3 separate regions of the Homo sapiens genome follow, and regions 2 and 3 are each linked to region 1. The links are contacts of gene promoters, found by promoter capture Hi-C in blood cells and fetal thymus (Javierre and others, 2016). All regions are on one chromosome and are shown on one strand. The core of a region is centred on a gene start or on the middle of the fragment in contact, and the rest is flanking DNA. Distances in the headings are between cores, read along the strand shown.

Region 1 (2,700 bases), core at 157-2,656:
GGACTCTCAGAGCTGGGTCACTACCTGGGACCAAGCCTGAGGCTGGTCCTTTAGGTCAAGGCAGGTCCCGACCCGCCTCCAACTTCAAATGGCCCCCTAGGCGGGAGAGGGTCACTGGGCGGGGAGTTCCTGGCTGTGCGGTCACACACACACACACCGACTCACACACACACCCACAACACCCCCCCCACACACACACACTCACACACACACCGACGACACACCACACACACATACATACGCGCGCGCGCACACACCACACACACACACACACACACACACACACACACACGCCGCCTCGCGCGCGCTCGCGGCACAGCACCGACTTCCCAACCCCAAACACACGCGCGCACCCCCGGGACAGCTGAGTTCTGTATTTCCTCTTCCTCAAAGCGACTCCGGCGATCGCAGTCGCCACTCTCCGCTCCGATTCCCGGGCCCCCTGGCATGCCGCCGCCCCCTTCTCTGAAGGCGCGCCCGGTGCGTCCCCTCTCCGAAGCCGAGATTTCCACGAAGCTCCACAAAGCTCCCCGCCGCCTCTCTCGGTCTCGGCGGAGACCCCGGTGTGTCCCCGGGAGGAGAGTATTTACTAACCAGAACCTCAGGGGCTCCCGGCTGCCCAGACCGCCCTCTCCGGCCCTCCTGGCCCCCATTCCTCTGGCCCATCACCGCCCCCTCCCACGAGCGCGCTCGCCGGGGGATTCCCTCCCATCCCCGAGTGCAGGAGAAGACGCCGAGTCTGAGCCGCAGCCGCTTCTCTAGCTCTATAGGAATCTTGACTCCAAGATCCCAGCCCCACATCCCCCGTCCCCAGTAACCCCGCGCCAGCGTCGCAACCCTCCCGCGCCCCCCCTCCCGCAGACCCTGGTCGAAATGTCTCGGCGGGCTCCCGGGCCCCGGGCCCTGCGCTTCATCCGCGGGCGCCGCACCTCCAGCGCCCCCTCCCTCCGCTCCCACTCCCACTCCCGCCATCCCCGGAGCTCAGACTTCCCCAACTGCAGAGCGCCCCGACGCGCCCGCAGCCCTCACCCTGCCGAGCGCGGCGGCCACCCCCGCCCGAGCCGCGGCGCCCCCAGGGAGGAAACAAAAGTGTCTCCGCGGCGCCCGGAGTCCCCCGGAGCAGGACGCCTCCTCCCGGCCCCAGTCCCGGCCCCCTCCCCTGCCGCGCCGAGGTCAGCGAGTCGGGGCGCGGCGCCAGCCCAGGAAACTTTACGAACCTGCTTGGGGTCGCAGGACAGCAGCGGCAAGGGTTCCCGGCGATCAGAGCTCCGGCGACCCGCCACCATTGAAGGGGAACTGGAGGCTCTGTCGCCCAGCGTGGGGCCGCGGCGGCGTGGGTGGCTCTGCCTCTATCCTGTGCCCATCCTCGCCCGCTCCCGCTCGCCCCAGCACACGCACTTACACTCTGGGTCGGCCGGCTGCTGCACCGCCGGCTGCCGCTGCTCTCACTTCCTCTTCCTTCCTCCTGCTGGCCAGAGACACATTTTGCATCTGCAAGGCATCCGGAGATCAGCCGCGAACTCTCCTCCCGAGCGGACGCTGCGGAGTTGCAGCCGCCGCCCCCGGCACCTGCGCCAGGACACTCGTGGTCTGCGCGTTCGCCTTGCGCCCGCACCCTGCCTGGTCCCTGCCCACTGCACTTTGCCTAGGGGGATGCCCACGACTTTTTGAAGTCCCCCTACTTAAAAGACAGAAATGTCAAACACCATGCATGCCTCAGATCTGCTATAAATAATATGTGTGCAGAGCATGACTTCGATGAGCTCACACACGGCGTTTGGAGGCACTAATTAACTCCGTCACCCTCATAGCGCCATCTCCGGGAGGCCAAAAGCGAGTAGCATCTTTTCACATCCTTTTTTAATTTTTGGCAACCGGTTCCGGATATTAAGGGGAAACTTCGGTGGGCTGTTTGAACGCTACTTTAAGACGTGTTTGTTTTGACGCTGTGCCTCTACCCTTGGACAGAGTGGCAAAAAAAAAAAAAAAAAGTTTCCTCCCTCTCCGTCGACATCTATGTATTTACTAACCCTGCAATTGAAACTACAAGATGTATTTCTAACCAATTAAGCCAGGGACTTCCTAATTTTGCATAACTTTGCATAAGGCAAGACGTTCCACCCATAATTTGATATTTAGAATAAATTACTTAATTCATGCAACCTACTTAAATCATTTTCAAAGCAGAAATCAAAAACGTTAACTCCCAGCCTAGCTGGCAGGAGGGAAGAGGGTTGCAGGCGAACCACCTGTCCTCCCCCAGTTCAGAAATACCTACATTGGCTCTACCGGAAAAGTCAAAGGCAGTTCGGCATTTTCTTCTAATTGGCAAAGGAAATAAGTCGGGGGCAGGGAGGCATCAGAATCAAGGTGGAAAACTAAGCTCCCTTTTAAGATCTTCCCCCTCAAGAGCCACAGGCAGCTGTTGAGCACTTGAAATGTGGCTATCCCTGAGATGTTCTGTAAGTGTAAAACAGACATACAATTCAGTATTTTTAAAATGAATGTAAACTAACTTGTTAAGTATGTTTATGTTGATTACATTATTGCAATACATGAGAATAGTCTGATGTAGTAAGTCAGTTGGATTCGTCATGTGTTGGGTTAAGATATAAGCATATATAAGATTAATTTCACCAGTTTCTTTTTACATTTTCTGATGTAGCTACTAGAAAATGTAAGGCTACACATAGGCTCTCA
Region 2 (2,700 bases), core at 44-2,543, 770 kb before region 1:
TTGATTGTGGTGACTGATGAACACGCAACTCTATGACTGTACTGAAAGTCACTAAATTGTACACTTTAAATGAGTGAACTGTACAGTATGTGAATTGTAGCTTAATAAAAGTGTTTAAATACAGATTCCCTCTCCCTTGGGATCCTTTTTAGGGGTGCTACTGTGGAGAGGGTCAAGAAGCTCTGATGTCACAGTATACTCAGAGACCTGCATTTCATTCAGTACCAGCCCACTGGCTTCTGGCCTTGGAGAAATTGCCTCCCCTTTCTGGACTTCCATTTCCTCATCTGAAAAATGTGGGTGTAGGATTTGGTCTCTATCACTATAATGTCTGCTAAGTTTGGGGACTTTTGTAAGAGATATTCCAAATTAAATGAAGGAGCTTTGGAAAAAAGTTAAAAGTACTGCTAATGCAGAACTGGCTTAGCCTAGAGCAGAGCAATTTAAAAATGGACATTAGGGTGTTCTTTGATAAAGTTCTAATACTGGCTGAAAGGCAGAGAAAATTCATCTTCTTTCTGGTAAGATAAGCAGTGTGTGTGTGTGTGTGTGTGTGTGTGTGTGTGTGTGTGTGTGTGTGTGTGCGCGCGCGCGCGCGTTAGAATTCTGTTTAGCTCAAGTCAAAGAGGATGGCTGCAGGTTCCTTCCTCCCTGAGCAGAACCATTTGAATAGTTTCCGGTAGTCTTCTGTGATTGTTAGCTTGAGAGGCCCCTGGAGCAATGGCTGATATGGGACAGGAAATGCTCTCTGAGAGCTAAATTCTGAGAGCAATCCGTAAGGGTACAAAGCAGAAATATGCAAAATCTCCAGAAAGAGCCAGCTATCCCCAGTCAGCCATGATCAGATGGTAACCTGATTGTTACTGATACACCTGAAGAAAAATTTGGCATTTACATATTGACAGTAGCTTAGCTAAAGTAAAAATTATACTGTTAAACTCTGCCTGTGACAAGGATCATACAAGAGTATTTAATTTCTACAGATTAAAAGAGACTTGGAACAGCATAGGAAAAAAGAAAATGTGGCTATTCCAAAGGACAAAATAAAGTTAAAATAAGACCAATTAAGTAGTTATCATACATTGGGTGTATACAGATGTATGTGTAAATAAAACATAGGACATTCCAATTTGTAAGTTACCTTCATGTTTACCATCACTTCCTTTCTCATAAGAATCTTTTCTAGTTCTAGATCCCTGAGGAATCACCACACTGTCTTCCACAATGGTTGAACTAGTTTACATGTACCTTAGAACTTAAAGTACAATAAATATATATATAAAAAATAAAAATAAAAAAAAGTATTGAGGCCTCAAAAAAAAAAGAATCTTTTGAGGGGGTAATTATTTTTATCCTCATTCTATAGACAAGAACATTAAGACTTAGAGAGCTTAAGATCACAACATAGCAAGTGGTTCAGCTGAGATTAAAATACTCCAAAAGGTCTTGTTATTTGTAGTATACATTTCAATGTGCTTAGGACATTTTATTTGATGCCTTATCTACCTCAAGTATAGCAGATATTGTTATACATTATTATATGTATAATATGTATACATTATTATATGTATAATATGTATACATTATTACATATGTATAATTATTATATACAAACTTGAAGCACAGTGCCACCAAGGGACCACATAATTATTTTTTTTTGAGACGGAGTCTTGCTCTGTCCCTAGGCTGGAGTGCAGTGGTGCAATCTCAGCTCACTGCAACCTCCACCTCCAGTGTTCAAGCAATTCTTCTGCGTCAGCCTCCTGAGTAGCTAGGACTACAGGCACATGTTACCACGCCCAGTTAATTTTTGTATTTTTAGTAGAGATGGGGTTTCACCACGTTGGCCAGGATGGTCGTGATCTCTTGATCTTGTGATCCGCCCGCCTTGGCCTCCTAAAAGTGCTGGGATTACAGGCATGAGCCACCACAACCGGCCAACCACACAATTTTATAAGTACATATTCTGGGATGCATTCAGACTTTCAGAACCTCCAGAGTAGGCATGAAGTGCCTTCTTTCTTTTAAGACTACATGAGTTTTTAACAATTATATTCCACAGAGATAAAATTTCTGCATAGGTGACCCAGGAAAGTGAACTTGTAGCAAGACTCTCAGGGCATATGATTCTGTTGACCCCTGACTAGTGAGAATGATTCCATTAATCATTTTCCATTAACAATTCCGAGATTCTTCCAAGGTGCTTCCTAATGAGAGCCAGAGGCAAAAGCAGTGGATGAAACTGAGGGTCAGAAATGCTTTGCACGATTAGAAAAAAACTGTCTTATAGGGCACAGGGAAAGGCAACATGATTTACTAAGAGATTATTCTCAAGAATGGTGCTTACGCGATTTCCCTGCTAAAACTTTGTTTTTTGTACTTTTTTAGCTTTGGAGGTGAAAGTAATACTTCACTGAAAAATAATTTAAAAATAATTGTGTGTTTATGTGCTTAATTTCATATCCTTCTGTCCCCCATTCACCTGGCCTACCAGACAGAAGGCAATGCAATATTGGATCCCAGTAGGCACTGTGGGTCAGGCCTATTATGTCTTCCAGGAGAAATCCTTAGCTAGGAGAACGTCTATCTTTGCCACCCCATACAACTGACATAACCATTCTGTTTCTGTGTCTTGTTTTTCTCATCCATAAAATGGAAGCAATACTGCCCATGGTGTCCTTTAACCTGAACTGAGTGTTC
Region 3 (2,700 bases), core at 46-2,545, 970 kb before region 1:
TAAGAACCATTGCTGGGGAACTAGTGTTGTTATTTGGAAACAAAAAGAACTCTGGCTTTTTGAGTTGCCAGACTTCTTGCACTGGTTCTTTCTCATCCGTGTGGGGTGATGTTCCTTTAATCTTTGAAGTTGCTGTCTTTATGTGTGTTTTTTTTCTTTTATCTCCTTTGATGCCCTTGGGGGTTTGATTATGGTATAAGGTGGGTTTAGTCAACTTGCTTTGATTCTAGTCCACTCTTGGATCTTGGAGGAGCCCCTTCTGATTACTGTCTCTATATCCACGTTTTGTTGTTGGGTGTTCTGGTACATGGGGCTCCCTCAGGCAGGGGCCACAGTTGGCCAGCTGGCTGTATGCTTTCTGGGTTGGCCTTAATTTGCTGTCTGAGTGCTTTCTGGCTGGGAGAAGACAGGGTTGTGCCTGCCCACAGAGTTCAGGCAGAAGCAGGACTACTGGGCTTGAAGCTCTAGCAGGCCTGGCTGGCCTGGCTATGAGAGGCAGGGATGGGTGGAGTCACCTACTCTGCCATTTGGGTGTTCTTCCTAGGACGACAGGAGGCTGTATCTGCCAGCTAAGTTCAGACAGAAGTGGGACCACTGGGCTGGAAATTCTAGCAGGTGTTGCCCACCTGGCTACCAGCAGCCAGGGGGTGGGTGGGGTCACCCATCCTGCCACTTGGGCATTTCCCAGGACAGTGGGAGGCTGCACCTGCTGGCTGAATTCAGACAGAAGTCGGACTGCTGGGCTGGAAGCTCTAGCAGGCATTGCTTACCTGGCTATCAGTGGTAGGGGTGGGTAAGGTTGCCTACCCTGTCATCCAGGTGATTCCCAGGATAACAGGAGGCTGTAGCTGTCAGCTGAGTTTGCACAGAAGTGGGACTGTTGGGCCAGAAGCTGGTGCCAAGCTCCATCTGGCGAGGGGCAGGTAGAGCAATCTTACTGCTCCCAGGCACCATGACTGTGGTCTCTATTGAGGCTATGGCACTGGTACTGGTCTGCTCTGGGGTCTCAGGCCTGGAGAGGTCCCCTTGGACTCAAGAGTTGCCCCTGCGAAATGTCCAGGTGGTTCTCTGCCTTAGTCTTGAAGTGCAGTGGGGGGTGTGGGAAGGCCAGGAGAATTCTCCCATTCTCAGTTTTGCACAGGTCCTCGTGGAAAGTGTGAATCCCTCAGGGGGCTCTCACTCACTCATCCTTTCTGGTATTGGAGAGATTCTCCTGGCTCTGCACTGAGCCCAGACAGGCTGGTGCCCAGTTCTGCTCTCTATGTTTCTTGGCTACCTTGATGGATCCCAATGTGTGTGTGTGTGTGTGTGTGTGTGTGTGTGTGTGTGTGTGTGTGTTTAGATGGAGTCTTGCTTTGTTGTGCAGGCTGGAGTGCAGTGGCACCATCTTGGCTCACTGCAACCTCTGCCTCATGGGTTGAAGCAATTCTCCTGCCTCAGCCTCCCGAGTAGCTGGGACTACAGGCATGTGCCACCCAAGCCCAGCTAATTTTTGTATTTTCAGTAGAGACGGGGTTTCACCATGTTAGCCAGGTTGGTCTCAAACTCCTGACCTCAGGCAATCTGCCCACCTCGGCCTCCCAAAGTGCTGGGATTATAGTCATGAGCCACTGCACCCGACCACAGTGTAGTTTTTCAGATGACTGGCCTGCAGGGTCAGTGTTCACTAGCCCTTTTGTTTCCTTTCTGTGAGAGTGGTGCACATGAGCTGCTTCTAGTCTGGCATCTTGGTCCAGTTCCATCTTGGTCCAGTTCCACTCTATCCTTCCTGGCTTCATTCATTTGCATCGTTGTTAACATCCCTTCTCAACAAAACTAAAGGATCTCCCTCAAGATGCACATTCCTGAGAAGTCAGGGAGTGTGTGTGTGTGTGTGTGTGTGTGTGTGTGTGTGTGTGTGTGCATGTGAACGCATGCGTGGACATATGCATTCATCATAAATAGACTGTAAGTCCCACTTAACTATATCACTATATTAATTTGCTCATTCCCTTGGTAAAATTCTTTGGTAACCATCAGAGGCTAGTGGAATGCTCCCTAACAGGTGTGTGCATTTCTGTTTCTACAAGCAAATGTCAGAAGAGTCAATAGTGTTTGCTCCCAAACGTGATCGTACCAGTTGTAAATGACATACTGTAAATGTCATAGTTAAACATTATATAAACTGAAAGTGTGAAAATGAAATTTTTAAACAATAACTCAGAGATTCTATAAAGATTAACTGCCGAGCGCAGTGGCTCACGCCTGTAATCTCAGCACTTTGGGAGGCCAAGGCGGGCAGATCATGAGTTCAAGAGATCGAGACCATCCTGGTGAAACCCCATCTCTACTAAAAATACAAAAATTAGCTGGGTGTTGTGGCACGCACTTGTAGTCTCAGCTACTCGGGAGGCTGAGGCAGGAGAATCGCTTGAACCCGGGAGGTGGAGGTTGCAGCGAGCTGAGGTTGCGCCACTGCACTCCAGCCTGGGTGACAGGGTGAGACTCCGTCTCAAAAAATAAAAATAAATTAAAAAAAAGAAACTGCGGCCATATTAAGTACAAAAGGGAAAAAGAGTAGAAATCTAGAAGAACAATGCTCTGAGATTACTTCATCAGTTTCTTTAAATTTAGTTCTCTTTAGAGACCTGGACAGTGCACATTGTTTGTTTACATAAGGAAGAGGTTATATAATTCATTCTACAGACTCCTGCTTAAAGA

The links. The method cuts DNA at HindIII sites, captures the fragments that hold promoters and counts their contacts. A CHiCAGO score of 5 or more calls a contact.
Region 2: a fragment that was not itself captured here is called in contact with the fragment with the promoter of ELMO1 in region 1 in 1 of 17 cell types (activated CD4 T cells); the score reaches 7.4 in activated CD4 T cells.
Region 3: a contact is called between a fragment that was not itself captured here and the fragment with the promoter of ELMO1 in region 1, in 1 of 17 cell types (naive CD8 T cells). The highest score is 5.7, in naive CD8 T cells.

What each region holds. Positions count from the first base shown.
Region 1 is chr7:37,447,458-37,450,157 of GRCh38, forward strand. It overlaps ELMO1 (engulfment and cell motility 1), which reads right to left and starts at 1,407. Exons shown (of 22, transcript NM_014800.11): 1 at 1,218-1,407. RefSeq lists silencers at 1,047-1,096, 1,107-1,156. The HindIII fragment of the contact is 5,071 bases long and covers 1-2,700 here.
Region 2 is chr7:36,678,018-36,680,717 of GRCh38, forward strand. The region is part of intron 2 of AOAH (acyloxyacyl hydrolase); the gene reads right to left. Among named protein-coding and RNA genes, the nearest start is that of AOAH, 45 kb to the right of the region's middle. The HindIII fragment of the contact is 3,690 bases long and covers 1-2,700 here.
Region 3 is chr7:36,482,374-36,485,073 of GRCh38, forward strand. No RefSeq gene overlaps it. Among named protein-coding and RNA genes, the nearest start is that of ANLN, 94 kb to the left of the region's middle. The HindIII fragment of the contact is 4,800 bases long and covers 1-2,700 here.